5 separate regions of the Homo sapiens genome follow, and regions 2, 3, 4 and 5 are each linked to region 1. Evidence: promoter capture Hi-C in human tissues and cell types (Jung and others, 2019). All regions are on one chromosome and are shown on one strand. The core of a region is centred on a gene start or on the middle of the fragment in contact, and the rest is flanking DNA. Distances in the headings are between cores, read along the strand shown. Region 1 holds the start of CYYR1 (cysteine and tyrosine rich 1). Region 2 overlaps APP (amyloid beta precursor protein). Region 3 has its middle 100 kb from the start of APP-DT. Region 4 has its middle 87 kb from the start of APP-DT. Region 5 overlaps APP-DT (APP divergent transcript).

Evidence for each region. The method cuts DNA at HindIII sites, captures the fragments that hold promoters and counts their contacts. A contact is called where the count stands out against the background at its distance.
Region 2: a fragment that was not itself captured here is called in contact with the fragment with the promoter of CYYR1 in region 1 in 2 of the 25 tissues and cell types used here (heart left ventricle and stomach).
Region 3: a contact is called between a fragment that was not itself captured here and the fragment with the promoter of CYYR1 in region 1, in 2 of the 25 tissues and cell types used here (dorsolateral prefrontal cortex and lymphoblastoid cells).
Region 4: a fragment that was not itself captured here is called in contact with the fragment with the promoter of CYYR1 in region 1 in 2 of the 25 tissues and cell types used here (dorsolateral prefrontal cortex and lymphoblastoid cells).
Region 5: a contact is called between a fragment that was not itself captured here and the fragment with the promoter of CYYR1 in region 1, in 1 of the 25 tissues and cell types used here (heart left ventricle).

What each region holds. Positions count from the first base shown.
Region 1 is chr21:26,571,901-26,576,238 of GRCh38, forward strand. CYYR1 (cysteine and tyrosine rich 1) reads right to left here and starts at 1,386. Exons shown (of 4, transcript NM_001320768.2): 1 at 968-1,386. The coding sequence starts at 1,040. The HindIII fragment of the contact is 7,865 bases long and covers 1-4,338 here.
Region 2 is chr21:26,152,108-26,156,271 of GRCh38, forward strand. The region is part of intron 1 of APP (amyloid beta precursor protein); the gene reads right to left. It overlaps LOC124900466 (a long non-coding RNA gene), which reads right to left. Exons shown (of 2, transcript XR_007067829.1): 1 at 1-4,164. Among named protein-coding and RNA genes, the nearest start is that of APP, 17 kb to the right of the region's middle. The HindIII fragment of the contact is 4,365 bases long and covers 1-4,164 here.
Region 3 is chr21:26,272,347-26,276,917 of GRCh38, forward strand. No RefSeq gene overlaps it. Among named protein-coding and RNA genes, the nearest start is that of APP-DT, 100 kb to the left of the region's middle. The HindIII fragment of the contact is 9,017 bases long and covers 1-4,571 here.
Region 4 is chr21:26,255,460-26,259,592 of GRCh38, forward strand. No RefSeq gene overlaps it. Among named protein-coding and RNA genes, the nearest start is that of APP-DT, 87 kb to the left of the region's middle. The HindIII fragment of the contact is 3,349 bases long and covers 940-4,133 here.
Region 5 is chr21:26,197,792-26,201,921 of GRCh38, forward strand. All of the region lies in intron 2 of APP-DT (APP divergent transcript), which reads left to right. Among named protein-coding and RNA genes, the nearest start is that of APP-DT, 29 kb to the left of the region's middle. The HindIII fragment of the contact is 3,797 bases long and covers 1-3,727 here.

The DNA of each region.
Region 1 (4,338 bases), core at 136-2,635:
AATGTCTACAGAAGTTATGGTGACTCTTTTCTAGCAAGGTTGAATGAGAAATTCAATTCTTTTAATACTCAGGTGCAACACTGAAGAACATCATTTCAGTTGCAATATCTTTTTGAGTATCAAAGGTAAATTTCAGTGCTATATATACATTTCGTATTGGAGGCTCAGGGGTGAGCCTGCGATTTTTGTCATAGGACGTTAGAGACACAAAAACATTTTACAAAGAACTTTGCTTTTAGCTTGCATTGTTTTGTGAATATGAACTGATGCAAAGACCACGTGTGTAAGACACTTTATACCTGAATAACCAATGAAAGGCCATTTGGGGCTCCATATTAATCACAAACAAGAAAACCCACTTTGCTTCGTTAATTATTAGCAGTTCTTACTACGAATAATTAGAAGGGAAACCAGATGCCCTTCTCTTATAAACAAGTGTCTATCTAAATCAACGAACCTGTACAGATTAGACCCTGGGTGAATTCATGCTTCTCAAAAACCTTGTGTTTGACTTCAGTCCAATAGCTCAGTCTACCACACTTGTGAATCTCCCAAAGAACGAAAACAAAGCTCTAAGTTTTTTTTATTCACAAGAGGGAAAACCAGGACTATTTAGAAAGCAGAAGATGGAGAGGCCACTGCCTAGCCTATCCAGATAAGTTTATTTGGATATAGTTTACTCTATCCAGAGAGTCAAATCCCCTAAACACGAGACTGCTATTTCCAAGGTGGAAAGGGAAAGAAAAGAAATGCAAAAGGTAAAAGTTAAAGGAAAAGGAACAAAACAAAACCGCGTGCGGCTGGAAGTGCGCGGGTTTCTGCCGTCGCCTCGCGGAAAAGGCAGAAGCGTCTGCAAAGGTCCTTCTGCAAAGGTCCCGGTCCGTCCAGCTCAACCCACGTTAGCCCGGACCGTGACCCAAGGGCAGCCCCGAGCCTCTGACCCTCTCCGCCGCCCTCCGTCACTGACCTGCGTAGACAAAGAGCAGGACCAACTTCGGAAGCAAGACCCCTGGACGCACGGGTAGCCTCGGAGCGTCCATCCAAGCCGGTGGCCTGAGGCTTGGAGCGAAGGGAGAGCCCGGAACCGGAGGGAATGGGGAGGATGGAGGGCGATCAGATGGAGAGAGCAGCGCTCCTGAGAGCCGGGTGGAGCAGAGACCCGGCCATTGCCTAGGGAGCCTTCCAAGGGAGCCCGGGCCGGGCGCGTCCCGGGCCAGCGACTGCGGGACTCCGCGGAGCTGGGGCGCCCGTGGCCCGAGACGGGCTGCGCTGGGGGCCCAGGTCTCTTTGTCTCGCCCCACTGCGCTCAGGCGCGGGGAAGGCGGCCACTCCGGCGTCCTTGGCCACCCAGGCTCACATTTCATCTCCGCGGGTGGCAACGACTGCGGGCAGGGGGCGGGGGTGGCCCCGACTCCTCCCCAAGCCCGGGTTCTTCCTTCTAAAGAGTGACTAGGGGACCAAGAAACTTTTCCTAACCCCTTGCTTTGGCGATTGCTATGGAGTTCAGCCTGCTCCTTTTTAACCTTGCCTCCACTACAATTTTTCCTTTCTAAGCAATGGATGAACAACTTTGCTTTTTATCTTTAAACAAAGGGAAGGAATTTTCAGGGTTGAAGGTATTCGACAAAGAGTGACAGTGAAGAAAACTCAGGATTGGGAAGTACAGAAAGTGTATGGCATCTCTGCTGAAAGCTGATAAAATGTTTATTATTTTTTCCTGTAAATTCAGAAAAAAAAAACACAACAGTGCACACTGTCGTTATGATTTTGACGTTTTGGAGTTACTGGCCTATGCAATTAAACAAGAGAAAGAAAAAGATTTATGAAAAATGAAAGCTAAATTGTCATTAGCAAATGAAATACGTGTATACATGGAAAATCAAAGTTAATCAACTATAAAGCTCTTGTTTAGCAAACCAATAGTTTTCTTTCCTGCAAACAAAAATCAGAAAGTTCTCAATGTTATGCATGAAGGAAAAAAAATGATACGAATAAGTAAAGAGATACTTTTTTCACTAAGAAAATTTAGTAGGATAAAGACAACAAGATTCCCCAAATTATTATATACATTTGGAAATAAAATTGATCCCAATTTTTAAAATAACATGATTTTTTTCAAACCAATCTGATTCTAAAGTTTATATGGAAAATAAATATGTAAGAATATCTATTTAAAACAAGAGTAATGAATGGGAATAATGAATGGGATATTACATATAATATCACAATAATTAAAACAGTTTAGATTAACATTGGAATAGATAGGCTTAGTGAAAGAGAAAAGGTAACCCAAAAGTAGACATGAGTATGTACAGCAATTTAATTTATGGTTTAAAGAAATATCAATGTAAAGTAGTAGGGGAAATGATGAGTTACTCAGTGAAAAGTGTTGAGGCCGTAAATAGCCATCTGTGGAGCCTTATCTTTTTACATCAAAATCAGTTCTATATGAATTACATATTTAAGATACAACTATGAAAATATTAGATTAAAAAATAAGAGGATAACATTCAAATAATTGTGGAATAGGGAAGCCTTTTCTAAGCATTATAAAAAACTCAGAAACCATAAAACAAAATATTGACCAACTTGACTAAATAAGAATTAATACTTCCAGTTGGCAGACATTTAACTGGCAAAAATATTTGCAATGCAAAGTCCTAATCTCATTATTATACTGAGCTTAAAAAAATCAATAGGAAAAACAACCAAGAGATAACTGAGGAAGGATATTAATAGACACTTCATACAAAACAAATAAATATAAATATAGAAATAAAATTGACAGTGAGACATCACTTTTCATGTATCAAACCAACCAAATACAAAACCAAATGAACTCTTAAGGGAAACGGTGTGGTTATATGTACGAAAATTCAAATACACATGTACTTAATTTAGTCAGTTCTCTTCCAGGAATTTTTTCCTGTAAATGCAGTGCTGCAAGGGAATACGAGAGTGGGAGGAAACATCACCCCCAAAATAAACATAAGCTAAGCTCTTTACTGTGTTTTACACGTTGGTGAAGGCCCAACCATCCACCATGTTCTAAAGAAGGCTGATCAGTTCCACCTTTTTTCTCATCCTCGCTGGCCAATCTATCACCAAGTTCACCTAATCTGTCCACCTGAACACCACCCAAACGCATTTTAAATTATCATCTATTTCTGTCCTAATCTAGACTTTTATAGTCTTGATTATATTCAGCCTCCCTGCCTTCAGAGATGTTTGCCAGACTGAAGCTGGAATATTTCTTCTTAAACTACAGATTTCATCATGTTCACTCACTCAGTAGCATCCTGTTGCCCTTAGGTTAAAATTCAAACATTTAATCCAGGGTGTTCAAGAACTTGTTCACTAGGTCCTGTCATTCTTGTAGCCTGATCAAAACATTCCACTGGGAAGCACAATTTCTAAATAACTGGGACAATGGTTGGAACCTAGAGAAAATCCCAGGCATACAAGCCCTTTGAGTCTTGAAGGAAGAAGATACAGATGGAAGTCAGTGTTTGCAGAGCTGAAGAATGGTATCCAGCCTGCTTGGAATAGAAAAATGATTGTCTTTGCAGATGAGACTGAATACAGATCCTTGATGGGCTGGTAGCTGTGATAGAAGAAGGGGCTTCTCCCGCCCACTTTTTGACACAGATCAGGAAGAGGCTGGCTGTTGCCACTGAGGCCCATAGGAAGTTGCAGTGTTGGTCAGGATAGTCTCTTTCAGCTTACTTTTGAGAACAGAAAGACTTCTCATACAGTTCAACAGATTGGTCGAGCAAGCTTGCCTGCAAGTGTACCTTCCAGAGCTGCTACCTTGAAGTATGCTGATGCTCAGGAAACCAAACTCAATTGACATGGAAAGGCAAAGAAAGATGGCAAGCCATTTAAGAAATTGTGGTAGTTAAAAGAAAGGATTTGAAGGAAAAAAAGATGTATATACAAATATGTATGGAATGAGAAACCTTAAGAATACAACATCAGAGGAACTAAAAGAGTTCCTGGAAATTAAAATAAATGTGGTTTGAGGTTTTAAAATTTACAGAAAAAAATTATAAAATAGTCACATTAAAAAAAAAAAACTTAGATTGTTAGATCAGGCCAGGCGCGGTGGATCACGCCTGTAATCCCAGCACTTTGGGAGGCCGAGGTGGGTATCACTTGAGGCTAAGAGTTCAAGAGCAGCCTAGCCAACATGGTGAAACTTCATCTGTACTAAAAATACAAAAAATTAACTGGGCGTGGTGGTGTGCACCAGTAGTCTCAGCTCTCAGCTATTCGGGTAGCTGAGGCAGGAGAATCAGGAGGTAGAGGTTACAGTGAGGTAAGATCATGCCACTGCAC
Region 2 (4,164 bases), core at 821-3,320, 420 kb before region 1:
CTACTAAAAATACAAAACAAAAACAAAATTAGCCGGGCGTGGTGGCGGGCGCCCGTAGTCCCAGCTACTCGGGAGGCTGAGGCGGGAGAATGGCGTGAACCCGGGAGGCGGAGCTTGCAGTGAGCCGAGATCGCGCCACTGCACTCCAGTCTGGGCGACAGAGCAAGACTCCATCTCAAAAAAAAAAAAAAAAAAAAAAATGGGCCAAGGATCTGAATAGACATTTCTAAAAAGCAAATGTACAAACAAACAAAACAAAACAAAACAAAAGCACAAGTCCACAACTACATAGCTCCAGTTTCCCTAAACAGATTTACCCATTCAGTAAACATTACATGTACAAAGAACTTAAAATAGTATGAGATTTAATGTTAAGAAATAAAATGTAGGATCTAAAACGTAATCTATAGCATAATCTCAAAAATGGTTTAGAAATGACATAATAATACAGACATTTGTGGGTGGTAGGATTATGCATATTTTTATATATTTTTAAATATATTTTTCAAAAGCTTCCTATAAAGAATGTAATTCTTTCCCAATTCCAAATCTAGCTTAAACATAATTTTACAAAAATTATTCTCTCAGAATGTAAACTAGTACCACCTCTATGGAAAACATTATGGAGATTTCCTAAAGAGTTAAAAGTAGATCTACCATTTGATCCAGCAATCTTAATACTGGGTATCTACCCGGAGGAAAAGAAGTCATTGTATGAAAAAGACACTTGTACACATATGTTTACAGGACCACAATTCACAAATGCAAAGATGCAGAACCAACCTAAGTGGCCACTGACTAATGAGAGGATAAAGAAGATGTGGCATATATATATCAGGGACTACTACTCAGCCATTACAAGGAACAAAATAATGTCTTTTGCAACAACTTGGATAGAGCTGGAGGCCATTATTCTAAGTAAAGTAATTCAGGAATTGGAAAACCAAAAACCGTATGTTCTCTCTTATAAGTGGGAACTAAGTTAGGAATAAGCAAAGGCACACAGAGGGACATATTGGACTTTAGAGACTCACGAGGAGGAGGGTAATAGGGGACTAGGGATTAAAAGAAAAACTAGACATTAGGTACAAGGTACCCTACTTAAGTGCACTAAAATCTCAGAATTCACCACTACGTAATTCAACTAAGTAACAAGAAACCACTTGTACCCCAAAAGCTACTGAAATAAAAATTATTCTCTCAAAAATTTTAAGCCCTAAACTTCAGTTCCTATTGTTTATATTTACTAAGAAAAACAACAGAAAACACTGTTTTAAAAATGGTGGATTTTTTTAAGGTTAAAGGTATATAAGACAGCTGCCTAAGGAAACGCAGATACCCCTGTACCTTGTTGTTGTTGTTGTTTTTCACTTTTTTAAAAAACATAGAGATGGGATCTCCTTATGCTGCCCAGGCTTGTCTCAAACTCCTGAGCTCAAGCAATCCTCTGACCTCAGACTCTCAAAGTTTTGGGACTACAGGCGACAGTCACCATGCCAGCCAATATCCTTGTACTTTTAACTCATTCCTACAAGCCATGAATCCTCTAAGCATTGTCCCAGACACAGCACTGGCAAACTTCAATCGTTTTCATCAGAATATAAAGAAACACAGGGCATGCTTAACTTCAAGGTTGATATTTCCTTTGTGAGTAAAGCCTTGCCACAGATGAGAAGTCCTGAGGATCAAACAGGAAAACTTTAAGTTTAATTAAATCTAAAATCATAAAACCTAAGTTATATGACTAAGCAAACTCTTCAAAGCACTCAGTCAACATCCATGCTGGTAAATATTTCAGGAATGAAATGAAAAATAACTTTCAATTCTAAAAGTTCATCCATCATGCATGCTTCACGTTGTAAAGCAAATATTTCACAAAAATGAGTTTACAACAAAAGAACACCAATCCCACTTCTCCAACCCTCCATGTCAGGCAGTAAGCTTTCCACATTTGCTTACATTCTGAAAATAACTATTTTACATGCCAGGAATGCAATAGGCTTAAGCTGTCAAAAAGTATCATACTTTAAGTGTAACTGGGTAAGAACTATGGGCACACACACAATAAGCCTTCCAAAACAAGGGGAGGTAAATGAAATCTTAATACCTGTGTTTCCAGAAGCCCAGAAATGAAGTGCAATTCCTTATAATCTGTACATGTTTACATACCCATACAGACAATAAAATGTGTAAGGTAATGACAGGTCCATCTCTCCCCTTCCTTTTAGTGGGCATCTGACATTTCAGGGTTCAGAATCACATATCCTGGGTCCCAAAAGGTCCCCCCATTCCTATTCCAACAGTGCTCACAATAGAAAAAGATGAACTGATCACTGGACCCTACATCATCTCATATATGTATAATACTAGTCCACAGAGAGGTTGAAGATATGCCTGGTAACTCTATTCATCCTACCCCACAAGTTTTGTCCAAATCAGGCCATGCCTTCAAGTGGGCCAGATTGTCTTAAAGCTCCTGGCTTAATATTTAACTGATAGCAACAACCTAACGTTAGTACCTTAGTAACTAAAGGGGATGCAGCAACATGAAGCAGAAAAAGTGATGAAGAAAGAGATTAGAAGTTAGAGAACAGGGACTGGGCTCTTGATCCTTAAAATGTGGGTGATTTTGAACAACTCAACATCTCCAGATATTACTTTCTTCATCTGTAAAGTGGAGAAGCTTAAAAAGGAGGTCTTATAGATTCTACCTGTTCCAGAAACTATGATTCTCTTCCTAGACAGCTGCAGGTTGAAGAGACTCTCCTAGAGCTGCACTGTCCAATACAGTAACCACTAGCCATCTGTGGCTACTAAGTACTTGACATGCAGCTGGTCTGAATTAAAATATGTGAAATATGTAATCAGGTGCGGTGGCTCACAACTGTAATCCCGGCACTTTGGGAGGCCAAAGCGGCAAGTCACTTGAGGTCAGGAGTTCAAGACCAGCCTGGCCAACATGGTGAAATCTCATCCCTACCAAAAATAAAAAAATTAGCTGGGTGTGATGGCACACGCCTGTAATCCCAGCTACTCAGGAGGCTGAGGCAGGAAAACTGCTTGAACCCAGGAGGTGGAGGTTGCAATGAGCCAAGATTGCAATGAGCAAGCTAGATTGCACTCTAGCCTGGGCAACCGACTGAGTGAGACTCCGTCTCAAAAAAATAGTAATAATAAAATAAAAAATAAATATGTGAAATGTGAACATTTTGAAGACATAATATGAAAAAATAATGTATTTCATAAATAGCTTTTATATTGACCCCCTGTTGAAATAACATTTTGAATTTAGTGACAGACTAAAATTAATTTCGCCTGCTTATTTTTTTATGTGGCTACTTGAAAACTTTAAATTAGATCTAACGGTCCTATTATACCTCTACTGGATAATTCTGCTTTAAAGTCAGTCCTGGGCATGCATGACGCCCAGAGGAATTCACAGATAAAATGAGCCCAGGAATCTGTATGGAATACAGACCTGTAGGTTACCATTTCCATATTAAATGTGTAAAGGGCTGTTTTAAAACCATGCTTTTGTTTTCTTATTTTGTGCACCAACAATAAATCAACAGCAAATATCATTGGGTCTAAAAATAATTGATATCTGGCTGGGCGCGGTGGCTCATGCCTGTAATCCCAGCACTTTGGGAGGCCGAGACGGGTGGATCATGAGGTCAGGAGATCAAGACCATCCTGGCTAACATGGTGAAACCCTGTCTCTACCAAAAATACAAAAAAACGTAGCTGGGAGTGGTGGCGGAAGCCTGTAGTCCCAGCTACTCGGGAGGCTGAGGGAGGAGAATGGCGTGAACCCAGGAGGGAGGCAGAGCTTGCAGTGAGCCGAGACCGTGCCACTGCACTCCAGCCTGGACAACAGAGCGAGACTTCGTCTCAAAAAAAAAAAAAAAAAAAAAGATACCACTTCATTTATGCTATGCCTGAATCCTAATTATCAACTGTAGGCCTTAACAATAATCCTAAGTGGATGTGCCTTTATGCAGGCACTTGTGGCCTTTTTGTTTTCTTTGAATTAAATATACAAAGTAATAATTTATCTTACTTCATAAAAAGATTATAATCTCCCATTTTTTAAAACACATTTGATATTAGTAGGAATAACTAAAATGAACTCGTATGAATAGACCATTTTTATTTCATTGATAT
Region 3 (4,571 bases), core at 609-3,108, 300 kb before region 1:
TCATGCTCTTTTTCTCAGTTTGCTCAGGAGATAAACTCCTGAAATATCTCATTGGAAGGAGATAGAGGGACCTCTCCATGACTGAAAAGGAAAGTGAGAAGTCCCTGACCCTTCTGCTCTGGCTTGTTTCAGCAATAACTCCAGACCAGAAGCCTGTCCCTACTAGAAGAGTGAGAGACTTTTGCTTGCATGAACAGGAAAGTGGGCGTTCTCTGAAATATCTTCTCTGGCTTGCTCCATCAGTAAATACAGATCTGCAGGTCCTGGAAGTAGTTTCTGCAAGCACCAAGGACTCCATCTTTTACAGTTTCCAACAAGGTACTGGCTTCTAAATTACCTAGATCTTGGAGTTAATGGAGCTCTACATTCCTGAGTTTCCTAAGTTACAGAGAACATAAAGATGACTTTTAAACATGCAAATTTTCAGCAAATATTTCCACAGGTCCAAAGTGAGAAGTCTGATCAAGAATACAAGTATCTCTCTCAGTCACTCACCTTGTGTACAGCAGAACAAGTGTGAGATAAACTCTGGCTGTCAACTTCTCTGCAAAGAAAGAAGGAACTGGAACATATCTTACACCTCAACCTCTTCAGCTGCATTCTAAGGAACTGACTTCTATCCCACTTCTCTCAAGGCAATAGCATGACTTGACACTCTCTAATTTCTTTGGGGACACTAAGAACAAAGACATCAGGTTAGATGAGTACAAGGAGTTTGGAAGCACCAGGAATCTCTGGCTGGGCTGATGGGGGAGAAACATCTTTTACATGGGACCAGTCTAACAAAATTGAGAGAGATGGTTCTTTTATCTAATGCATGGAAACAAACATGAGAGCCAAGGAAAAATGAAGAAACGTGGAAATGTGTTCTAAATATAAGATACATCTCTGGAAGCCAACCCCAATGAAGTGGAGATATGTGATTTACATGACAGGGAATTCAAAAGGACAGTCATAAAGATACTTACTGAGACAAGGAGAGCAATGCAAGAACAAACTGAGAACTTTAAAAAAAGATAGAAAATATAAAAATAGCAGCAAACAAAAATAATTGAGCTGAAGAATACAATAATGGGGCTCAAAAATTTAATAGAGGGTTTCAATACCAATCTATATAAAGCAGAAGAAAGAATTAGCAAACTTGATGACAAGTCATTAGAAGTCATCCAATCTAAGAAGTCAAAAGAAAAAAGAATGAAAAAGGGTGAAGACAGTGTAGGGGATTTGTGGGACACCATTAAGTGGAATAATATATACATTATCAGTGTACCAGAAGGAGAAAAGAAACAGAAAGGGACAGAAAACATTCAAGGAAATAATGGCAGAAAATTTCCTAAGTCTGGAAAAGAAAATAGAAATCCATATCCATGAAGCTCAATGGTCTGTTATAGGATAAATTCAAAGGGACACACACCAAGACACATTACAATCAAATTGTCAAAAGTTAAAGACAAAGAGAATATTGAAAGCAGTAAGGGAGGAGTGACTTGTTACATACATGGGACCTCTAGAAGACTGTCAATGGATTTTCCACAGAAATCCTGAAGGGTAGAAGGGAAAGGGATGATATATTCAAAACTGAAATAAAAAAAAGAACCCTGCCAACCAAGAATACTATACCCAGCAATCCTGTCCCTTAAAGGTGAAGAAGAGATAAAAACTTTCTGAGACAAACAAAAGGTGAGGGAATTTATCACCATTAGACCTACCTTACAAGAATGCTAACAATAGTCCCTCAAGCTTAAGGAAAAATTGTTAAGTAGCAACATCAAAGTATATTAAAACATAAAACTTACTGGTAAAAGTAAGTATGTAGTTAAACTCAGAACACTCTTAGATTGGAACAGTGGTGTGAAAATAAATTTTGTTTCTAGCATGAAAATTAAAAGACAAAACTATAAAAACAACTGTAGTTACACTAACTTGTTAAGGGACACAAACTAAAAATTACAAAACATGTCAAAAAAACAAATGGAGAGGAATAAAAGTATAGAGTTTGTGCAAGTGATCAAAGTTAAATCATTATCAGCTTAACAAGGGATGTTCTTAGCATATGATGTTTTATATAATCCTCATAGTGGCCAAAAAAAAAAAAAAAACAACTCCTTAGTGGATACACCAAAGATAAAAAGAAAGGATTCAAAGCATACTGTGATAGGAAATCATCAAGCCACAAAAGACAACCATAAGAGAGGAAGAGAGGAACAAGTAATCTACAAATTAACCAGAAAACAATTAACAAAATGGCAATAGTAAGTCTTTATCTATCAATAATTACTTTAAATGTAAATGAACTAAGTTATTCAATCAAAATACATCAAGTGGCTAAATGGATTAACCAAAAAAAAGACTCAGTGATATGCTGCCAACAAGAGACTCATTTCATCTCTAAGAACATACATAGACCAAAAATGAAGGGATGGAAAAAGTTATTCCATGGAAATAGAAATCAAAATAGAGCAGGGATAGCTATACTTATATCACACAAAATAGACCTTAAGTCAAAAACTATAAAAAGAGGTGAAGAAGGTCATTATATGACGATAAAGTGGTCAATTCATCAAGAAGATATGACAGTTGTAGATATGCATCCATCCAAAGTTGGAACACCTAAATTGGTAAAGCAGATATTAATAGATCCAAGGAATGAGATAGACTGTAATATAATAATAGTAGGATAACTAAATACTACACTTTTAACATTGGACAGATCATCTAGACAGAAAATATTGGACTTGAAGTATGCTTTATTTATTTATTTATTTTGAGACAGGGTCTCACTCTTTTGCCCAAGCTGGAATGTAGTGGCAAGACCATGGCTTACTGCAACCTCTACCTCCCCTGGCTCAAGTGATACCCCCACCTCAGCTTCTTGAGTGGCTGGAACTACAGGCATGCACCACCATTCCCAGCTAATTTTTGTATTTTTTTGTGGAGACAGGGTTTTGCCATGTTTTCCAGTCTGGCCTCAAACTCTTGGGCTTCAGCAATTCACCTGGCTTGGCCTTCCAAAGTGCTGGGATTACAAATGTGAGGCACTGCACCTGCCCTGAACTACGCTTCAGATCAAATAAACCTAACAGACATTTATAGAACATTCCATTCAACAGCAAGAGAATATAAATTCTTCTCAAGTGCATCTGGAACATTCTCCAGGATATATCATATGATAGGCTGAAAACAAGTCTTAACACATTTAAAATGATTGAAATAATATTGAGTATTTTTTCTGACCACAATGGCATAAAACTAGAAATCCATAACAAGAGGAACCTTGAAAAATTCCCAAATATATGAGAATTAAACAGCCTGTTTCTGAATAACTGATGGGTCAAAGGGGAAATTAAAAGAGAAATTAAAAAATATCTTAAGACAAATGAAAATGGTAACACAACATATCAAAATTTATGGAATGCAGCAAAAGCAGTCCTGTGAGGGAATTTTATGACAATACATGCCTACATCAAAAAAGGAAAAAGATTTCAAATAAACATTGGTAGAAACGGGATATCCACATGCAGAAGAAGGAAATTGGATCATTTTCTTACACCATATACAAAATAAACTCAAAATGAGTAAAAGATTTAAATGTTAAGGCCTGAAACTGTGAAGTTGCTTGGAGAAAATGGGAAAAGCTCCATGTTGTTGATCTGGGCAATGATTTCTTGGACAGAACTCCAAAAACCACAGGCAACAAAAGCAAAAATAGACAATTGGGATTGCATTAAATTAAAAAGCACAGCAAAGGAAACAATTAACAGAGTAAAGACACACCCATGAATTGGCAGAAAATATTTGCAAAAACTTAGACATCTGATGAGGGCCTGATATCCAAAATATATGAGGAACTCAAACCACTCAATAGTAAAAAATCAAACTGATTAAAAACTGAGCAAAAGATCTGAATAGACATTCCTCAAAAGAGATATAAATGGCCAACAGATATATGAAAAAAAGTTCATAATATCTAATTATCAGGGAAATGCAAATTAAAACCACAATGAGATATGACCTCACAGCTGTTAGAATGGCTATTATTAAAAAATAGGAATGATAAAGTTTTGATGAGGAGGTGGAGAAAAGGGAACTGTTTATTGGTATGTAAATTAGTATAGCTATTTTGGAAAAGAGTATGGGAGTTCCTCAAAAAACGAAAAATAGGATTGCCATATGATCCAGCAATCTCACTTCTAAGTATACATCCCCAGAACTGAAACTGATATGTCAAAGAAATATTTGCACTCCCCTGTTCATTGCAGCATAATTCACTATAGTCAAGGCATGCAAAACTCACAAAAGCCAAGGTATAGAACAAATGAATGGTTTAAAAATGTGGTAAATATACACAATAGAATACTATTTAGCCTTAAATAAGAAGGAAATTTTGCCATTTGCAGCAACATGGATACAGCCAGAGGACAGTGAATGAAATTATCCAGGCACAGAAAGACAAATGCTGCCTGATTTCTTTCATATGTGGAAGCTAAAAAAGTCGACCTTACAGAACTAGAGAGTAGAAAGGTGGTTACCAGAACCTGGAGGGATGGGGAAAGGAAAGATGTCGATCAAAG
Region 4 (4,133 bases), core at 1,364-3,863, 320 kb before region 1:
GGTGTTAATCCCACGTGCTTTGCCCTCATCACTTAAACACCTCCCAAAGCTCCACCTCTTAATATCATGATTTTGGGAGTTAGGTTTCAACGTATGAATTTGGGAGGACATAAACATTCAGACCATAGCAATCACATTATACATATTGCATGTCAAACCTTATATATATAAGATATATCTTTTTAATTTGACAAAAAAGGATCACTTTCCAGGTACTATTCTGTAATCTACCTTTTGTGCTTTATTATACATCGTCATCATATTTCTGCTTCAGTGTGATAAATCTATTGTATTTACCCTAATGGCTACAAAGTATTGTCCTGAGAGATATCCTAATTTATTTTTTTAAATGATTCCCAATTGACTGGCCTTAAGTTGCTTCTATTTTCATAGAAGCAATAATTATCATAATGCTACAATAAACATTATTGTACATATAACATTTTTGCATTTGGGGAGAGTATGTATATTGCAGGAGAAATTCTTAGAAATGGAATTTCTGGGCATATGAATTTTCAAAAATATTGCCAAATTAAAAAGGACTGCATATATTTACTCTCCCACTAGCACTGTGGGAAAGCCTTTTTTTTTTTTTTTTTTTTTTTTTTTTGAGACAGAGTTTCACTCTGTCACCCAGACTGGAGTGCAGTAGTGCCATGTCGGCTTACTGCAACCTCCGCCTCCTAGGCTCAAGCGATTCTTCTGCCTCAGCCTCCGGAGTAGCTGGGATTACAGGTGCACCACTACTACCCAGCTAATTTTTGTATTTTTAGTAGAGATGGGGTTTCACCATGTTGGCGAGGCTGGTCTTGAACTCCTGACCTCAAGTGATCCACCTGCCTCGGCCTTCCAAAGTGCTGGGATTATAGGCGTGAGCCACTGCACTGTGCCCGGAAAATCTTTTTTATTCATGTCTTTACTACCATTGGTCAGCTAAGCCAGAAGACAGATGACAGAGGGCTGGTCTATTTTTGAATATTGACAGAGAAGAATGAGACTCTGGGCTGGGCGCGGTGGCCCATGCTTGTAATCCCAGCACTTTGGGAGCCCAAGGTGGGCAGATCACCTGAGGCCAGGAGTTCGAGAGCAGCCTGGCCAACATGGTGAAATCCCATCTCTACTAAAAATACAAAAATTAGCTGGGTGTGGTGATGTGCACCTGTAGTCCCAGCTACTCAGGAGGCTGAGGCAGGAAAATCGCTTGAACCCTGGAGGCAGAGGTTGTAGTGAGCTGAGATCATGCCGCTGCACTCCAGCCTGGGCAACAGAGTGAGACTCGGTCTCAAAAAAAAAAAAAAAAAATGAGACTGATCAATGTTGCTTTGACTTCAATTTACTACTAAAACAGCTAGCAAGAAAGGGAAAGGGTACTCGCTAGACCAGTGGGTCTCAACACCTGGAGCAGCAGCAGTAGCACCACCTGAAACTTACTAGAAATGCAAGTTCTCAAGTCCCATCTTAAATCTGAATCAGAAACTCTGGTGGCAGGGCCCAGGAATCTGGGTTTAACAAGATCTTGAGCTGATTTTGATGGTGGCCCAAGTTGGAGAATTACTGCAGTACAGCTTGATGAAAGTGAGAATGCAGTTTCCCAGTGCTTTCCTTATGCCTCTTGGAGGTGAACCTGGAGTCCTCTGCTTTAGGTTGAAGGTACCCAGGGCTTTGTACTCCCTGCATCTCACCCCACTGGGGTGGAGCAGGGGACCCACTGGGATTCAGTGTATTACTTACTTTCATATAAGGCAACTCTTGTTGTCCCATAGTTATAAAGCTCTGTGTTCTGTTTCTTATTGTATTACGTGTACGTGGACATGCCAAACATTAACAAATATTTGGCTTCTTGTCTATCTGAAAAATGGCCCCTCATTTCTATTTAACATGAATTTCTTTAATTATAAGTGAAGTTGAGCATCTTCTTATTTTTATGGGCCACTTTGCACGTTTTCCTCTTATTTATTACTTTCTATATTTGTCATATTTTCTATTGGTTGGTTGTCTTTTTAAAAAAGAATTAAATTGTAACAGCTGTTTTAATTCTAAGGAAATTAGCCTTTCATCATTTGTGTTGCAAATTCGTTTTTACCTACTTTGTCATCTATCATTTAAATTTAGTTACAATACATTTTTGCATCACAGAGAGTTAAGATTTTTATGTAGTCAAATTGATAAGTTTTTATGTGTCTGAATTTTGAATTTTATGTATGCTTAGATAGATCTTCCCAACCCTAGGATAATTAAAAAAACATATTTTTTCCTAAACTTTATGGCTTTATTTTTAGCATATACATCTTTGATGTGAATGGAATTTATTGTGACTTAACAACTGAAGTATACATATTAACTTCCATTTCCAATGGAATATCATTGATTGAGATTATAATTAACTTATAGCTCAATAAAAAAAGAGTTTTAACCCAGAGTTTTCCTAACCAAGAACAGAGTATACCTTTACAGTTACTTATTTTTTCATTTTTTTTTCCTTCGGGAGTGATTTAAAGGTTCTTTATATAGTTATTACATATGTATTTTATAAACTTTTGGAATGTGATGTTTCTTATTATAAGTAACCTTTCTACTAATTATTTGCATATAATAAAGCTCAATTTTTTTTGTGTATTGATTTCATAATCACCTTACTGAATTCTCATATTATTTTTATTAGTATAGTTTTTAGAGGATTCTTAGGAGTTTTCCAAGGCGATGTGGTTTGGATCTCTGTCCCCACCCAAATCTCATGTTTAATTGTAATTTCCAACTGTTCATTGCTTGTAATCCCCAGTGCTGGAGGTGGGCCTGGTGGGAGGTGATATTGGATCATGGGGGCTGATTTCCTCCTTGATGCTGCTTGATCATGAGTGAGTGCTCATGAGATCTGGTTGTTTAAAAGTGTATAATGCCTCCCCTCTCTCTCTCTTCCTCCTGCTTCAGCCGTATGAGCATAACTGCTTCAGCTTTGCCTTTTGCCATGAGTAAAAGCTCTCTGAGGTCTCTCCAGCTATGCTTCCTTTAAAACCTGCAGAACTGTAAGCTAATTCAACCTCTTTTCTTCATAAATTACCCAGTCTCTGGCATTTCTTTATAGCAATGGGAGAAGAGACTAATACACAAGGTTGTAATAATTATCTATGAATAATATAAAGCAGCCTGTTTTTGAAATTAGACTTCTGTTATGGAGTGAATATTATGGTGGAATATGACCTTTCTAAAATTTTTCTGTTCTTAAAAACATCATCTTGGGCTGGGTGGTGGCTCATGCCTGTAATCCCGGCACTTTGGGAGGCCTAGGCGGGTGGATCACAAGGTCAAGAGACCGAGACCATCCTGGCTAACACGGTGAAACCCTGTCTCTATTAAAATACAAAAAAATTAGCTGGGCATGGTGGTGGGCACCTGTAGTCCCAGCTACTCTGGAGGCTGAGGCAGGAGAACGGCGTGAAGCTTGCAGTGAGCCGAGATTGCGCCACTGCACCCCAGCCTGGGTGACAGAGTGAGACTCCGTCTCAAAAAAAAAACAAAACCATATCATCTTTAATGAAGTAAATGTCATACAACAAAATTGACCAATTTTACATTTGTAATTCTGTTTTAATCATGTAGTACAGCTGTATAATTACCACAATCATCATATAAAACATATCAATCCTGCCAGAAAATTCTCTCCTACTCCTTTCCTGTCAATTGCTTCTCCCTATCTCTTGTTCCTGGTACCACTAAATAACTTTTGGTCATTGTAGTTTTACCCTATCTAGAATTTTATATAAATAGACTCATACGGTGTGCAGTCTTTTGTGTCTCACTTTTTTCACATAATATATCATGATATGGCTATACAATAATTTGTTTATATTCACTAGTTGATGAACATTTGGGTTGTTTACAACTTTTTGGCTATTAATGAATAAAGAGGCTATTCATGTACATTCAAGTACATGTCTTGTCTGGGTGTGTGTTATTATTTCTCTTGGGTAAATACTTAGGAGTGAGCCTGCTGAGTTGTATGGTAAGAGTATATTTAACTTGGGCCGGGTGTGGTGGCTCACGCCTGTAATTCCAGCACTTTGGGAGGCCGAGGCGGGTGGATCACGAGGTCAAGAGATCGATACCATCCTGGCCAACATGGTAAAACCCCATCT
Region 5 (4,130 bases), core at 579-3,078, 370 kb before region 1:
TGTTGCTCAGGCTGGTCATAAACTCCTGGCCTCAAGCGATCTTCCACTTTGACCTCCCAAAGTGCTGGGATTGCAGGCATGAGCCTCCACACCTGGTGCAGCCGTACAGCTTTCAAAAATGAAGAGAGGAACTCGTGGGCACTACTGGCATACATCTAAGAATAAAATGTGAACAATCTGGTTGTTGTGTTATAACAACTTGGTTAATACAATATGATATTGATGAGATGCTCCCAACTCATCTTGGAGTAACTGAATGATGCTACCTGAAAGGTAGATATGAGTAGGAAGTGGAGGTATACAGGGGCTGGAGTGGGGCAAGGAGGCTTTCCAGGCATGGAGAAAAGTGTAAACTAAGACACAGCTTATGTGAGAAACAAGCATAGTACAAGTAATCTAGTGTTGCTGGATCATAAGGGCTTCTGGGATAAAGAATCTTCAAAGAAGGAGAGATATAATTGCTTAACATACAGCTCACCAATGGGATTATGCAATGATTTATAACTGTCCCCTAGATAGCTGTGTGGCATCAGACAAGCCATTAACATCTCTGTGCCTCATTTGTCATCAAATGCTGCATGGGAATAAAACGTCATGAATTATCTCCTTTCTAAAGTGACACATGAATTGCTAAAAAAAAAAAAAAAAGAAAAATTAAGTTCTAAAGAACTTTCTTTTTTTTTCTTTTTTTGAGATGGAGTCTCACTCTGTTGCCCAAGCTAGAGTGCAGTGGTGCGATCTCGGCTCACTGCAAGCTCCTCCTCCAGGGTTCAAGTGATTCTCCTGCCTCGGCCTCCTGAGTAGCTATGACTATAGGCGCCCGCCATCACGCCTGGCTAATTTTTTGTATTTTTAGTGGAGATGGGGTTTCACCGTGTTAGCCAGGATGGTCTTGATCTCCTGACCTCGTGATCCGTCTGCCTCGGTCTCCCAAAGTGCTGGGATTACAGGCGTGAGCCACTGCGCCCAGGCTAAGAACTTTCTAATATTGTCCTATATGTAGCCAAGCCTTGTGCAGATAAAGATTATTATTGCCGTTTGGGACAAGTGGATGCTTTCAGAGAGTCTTAGTTGAGGTTTCCTAGAGGCTGAACCTGAGATAGAGATCCTTATGCAAGTGGTTTATTGAACTTACTAGTTTTGGAAGAAACTAGTAAGAAGGTGAGGGAAGCAGAAAAGGGCAGGAGGAGAAGCAAATGCAAATGTTAAAATAGAAGGATTTAACCACTTTCAAAAAGAGGGCACTCATTTACAAAGTAGTAAAGGACACACATTTAATTATATAAAAATGTGCATAGATGTTTGGAAATTTTGACATGTAGTCACAGAATAATGTGAAAATTATATACAATTATTGACATTCAAATAGCAGAAACATAGAAAGTCAAAGGTTGGCCATGGATGACCCTCATCAAGGGCAAATGTGTACACATCTATGCACTTATATTTAATGGCAATGAACTTGTCAGCTACAGCCTGTTTGACATTTACAGAATGATGTGTGATAATGGGATTGATGAATTCATTAGCATTATGAATCATACATAAATAGAATCTTTAGCACATTTTATTAAGTGTGAACTAAAATATGTTGTTTGGAGAGGACAAAGATTACAAATGTTTTAAACTGGGTTCCCAAAGGGCAAGGAAAATTAAACAGTCAGATTCCACCCTAAATGATCAAAAGGTGGAATGTACATCTCAGTCACGTTGTGCTGATGTGGCAGTAGGGCCAGAGGAGTTTTGGAAAATCCAAAGAAGCACAAAGCTTGAGTATGAGCATAAAGGAAAACACCAAGCGCTGAGTCAGACACTGGACAAGAAGTTCTTTTCTGATTTTTCAAATGAAAAGACTGTACAGTTGAGATTAAGGTTCATTAATTTATTGATTCAACCAATATTTAGAGAGCACCTCTTACGTGCTGGGTCCTGTGGTTGTTGCTGCAGTTACAGACATGAAGAGGCAGGAATGAGCTCCCAAGCCAAGTATGCAGGATTGTGTCATTTCTCGTTCCATGCTTTTTGCTAATCATGTCTGGGGGTTTATAGGCTGTGTCTACATTTGTGTGGTTTCCTAGAGATTTCAAATATTAAAAAATATCCAAACCCCTTCCCATTGCCTTAAACTCTTCCCTTAATTCATATTCCAGAATTGGCACAGGGAAAAATGGATCTCTTCTTTCCCCCAGGAAAAAAACCCCACAAGCTTATAGTTATGGTAAATTAATTGGTGAATATTCTTCATTAACTATTCTGTATCTTAATTTTTTTCCCTGAAAAATGAAAATGTTACTTATACCACTGGGAGCATTTTGCTGATTATTAGTATCCAAGGTATAAAATTTTTTGAGATTCTGGGAACAAGAACTCCCCCATGGAGAGATTAAACTACCTTCTCTTATACATTATAGAGTTTACTATCTTGATTTATTTCTTCTTGTTGATCTCTAATCCATCCAATAACCATAGCCACTAGTAATTGTGAATATCTTTTTATTATATCGGGTTTCTTGTAACTTTGAGGATTTTGTTTTAGTAAATTAAATATATTATTTGTACATGTAATTTTGCTGCATAGAACAACTGGATTTCTGGATAAGTAGCTTGAATGTTATGTCCTAGAGAATAGGAGTTTATTACTTGCTAATATGGCTTATTACATTCTGATGAATATTTTGACTATGATCTGAGTTGAATTGATAGGAATACATTTTCGAAGTACTTAAAAATTATTTATGGTGGTTCTTTTGTAGTGTTTTCCTTTTTATAAAACCACACTGTCTGAGAAGAACTCTCTTACTTCTGTGTCTTAACTTGTGGGAACAATTTATTTATTTATTTATTCATATTAGAGATGGGGCCTCATAATGTTTCCCAGGATGGCCTCAAACTTCTAGGCTCATGGGACCCTCCCGCCTCAGCCTCCCAAGTAGCTGGGCCTACAGATGCCCACTGCTGTCCCCGACTATCTATATGAATTATCTTTATCATTGAAAATTTAGGCCAGGCGAGGTGGCACATGCTTGTAATCCTAGCACTTTGGGAAGCTGAGGCAGGTGGACTACTTGAGCCCAGGTGTTCAAGACCAGCCTGGGCAACATGGTGAAATCCTGTCTCTGTGAAAAATAAAAAAATTAGTCAGGGGTAGTGGTGCACACCTGTGGTCCCAGCTACTCAGGAGGCTGAGATAGGATTGCTTGAGCCTGGGAGGTTGAGGCTGCAGTGAGCTGAGATGGCACCACTGCCTTCCAGCCTGGGTGACAGAGTGAGACCCTGCCTCAGGAAAAAAAAAAAAGAAAAAAAGAAAAAGAAATTTTATCAATGTGTTTGTGCTGGTGTCAGTTTAAAGCCTATAGAGAGTCTTGGAATTTATGGGATGTTGAATTTTTAAAAATTCATTTGTATTAAGTGGACTTTTTATAAAAGAGTAAATACCTAATTAAAATAATATTTTATCTGATGTTACCAAAGAGTTCTTCATTTCAACGTTCCATCCCTGAGTAAGTTAACTTATGAGGAATGAATTATATTACCTAGCAACCTCCATCCATCTTACCACATTGTTAAAAGCCTATATTCTGCAAATAATTCACGTAATGAAACAATAGGCATAAATTAAGTTATACATTTAATTAACATATACATAATTAAATTATATATACCAAGAAACATTAAACTTTTAAACAATTATAACCAAATTCATTGCTCATTTCTTCTAAATCGATATTTACATCTTTATTGTTAATTTCTAAGAAAAGCCTTAATAAGAAAAATAACCTAGGAGTATCTTGAATTAGCAAATGTATGTTTTATAGAAATTCTACATTTTATAGATTCTATCACTGCTTCTACAGTACATACATTTTTATATTTATGGATTCATTGGTATCCTATAAATAGCCTGGATTTTTAATATAATTTATACTACTAGAGTATAAATTATACTCTAGTATAATGGTTCTCAGGTGCGCATATCAGAAGACAAACACAGAGATGGTTGACATTGACATATAGCAGACTTTTATCCCCCTAAAAATGCATTTTTTTTAGCAGGTTCAAAATTGGAAGCATGAATTGAAACAACACAGAAATAACATGTTTGCTTACAGTGGATAAATTTTGTACTATTT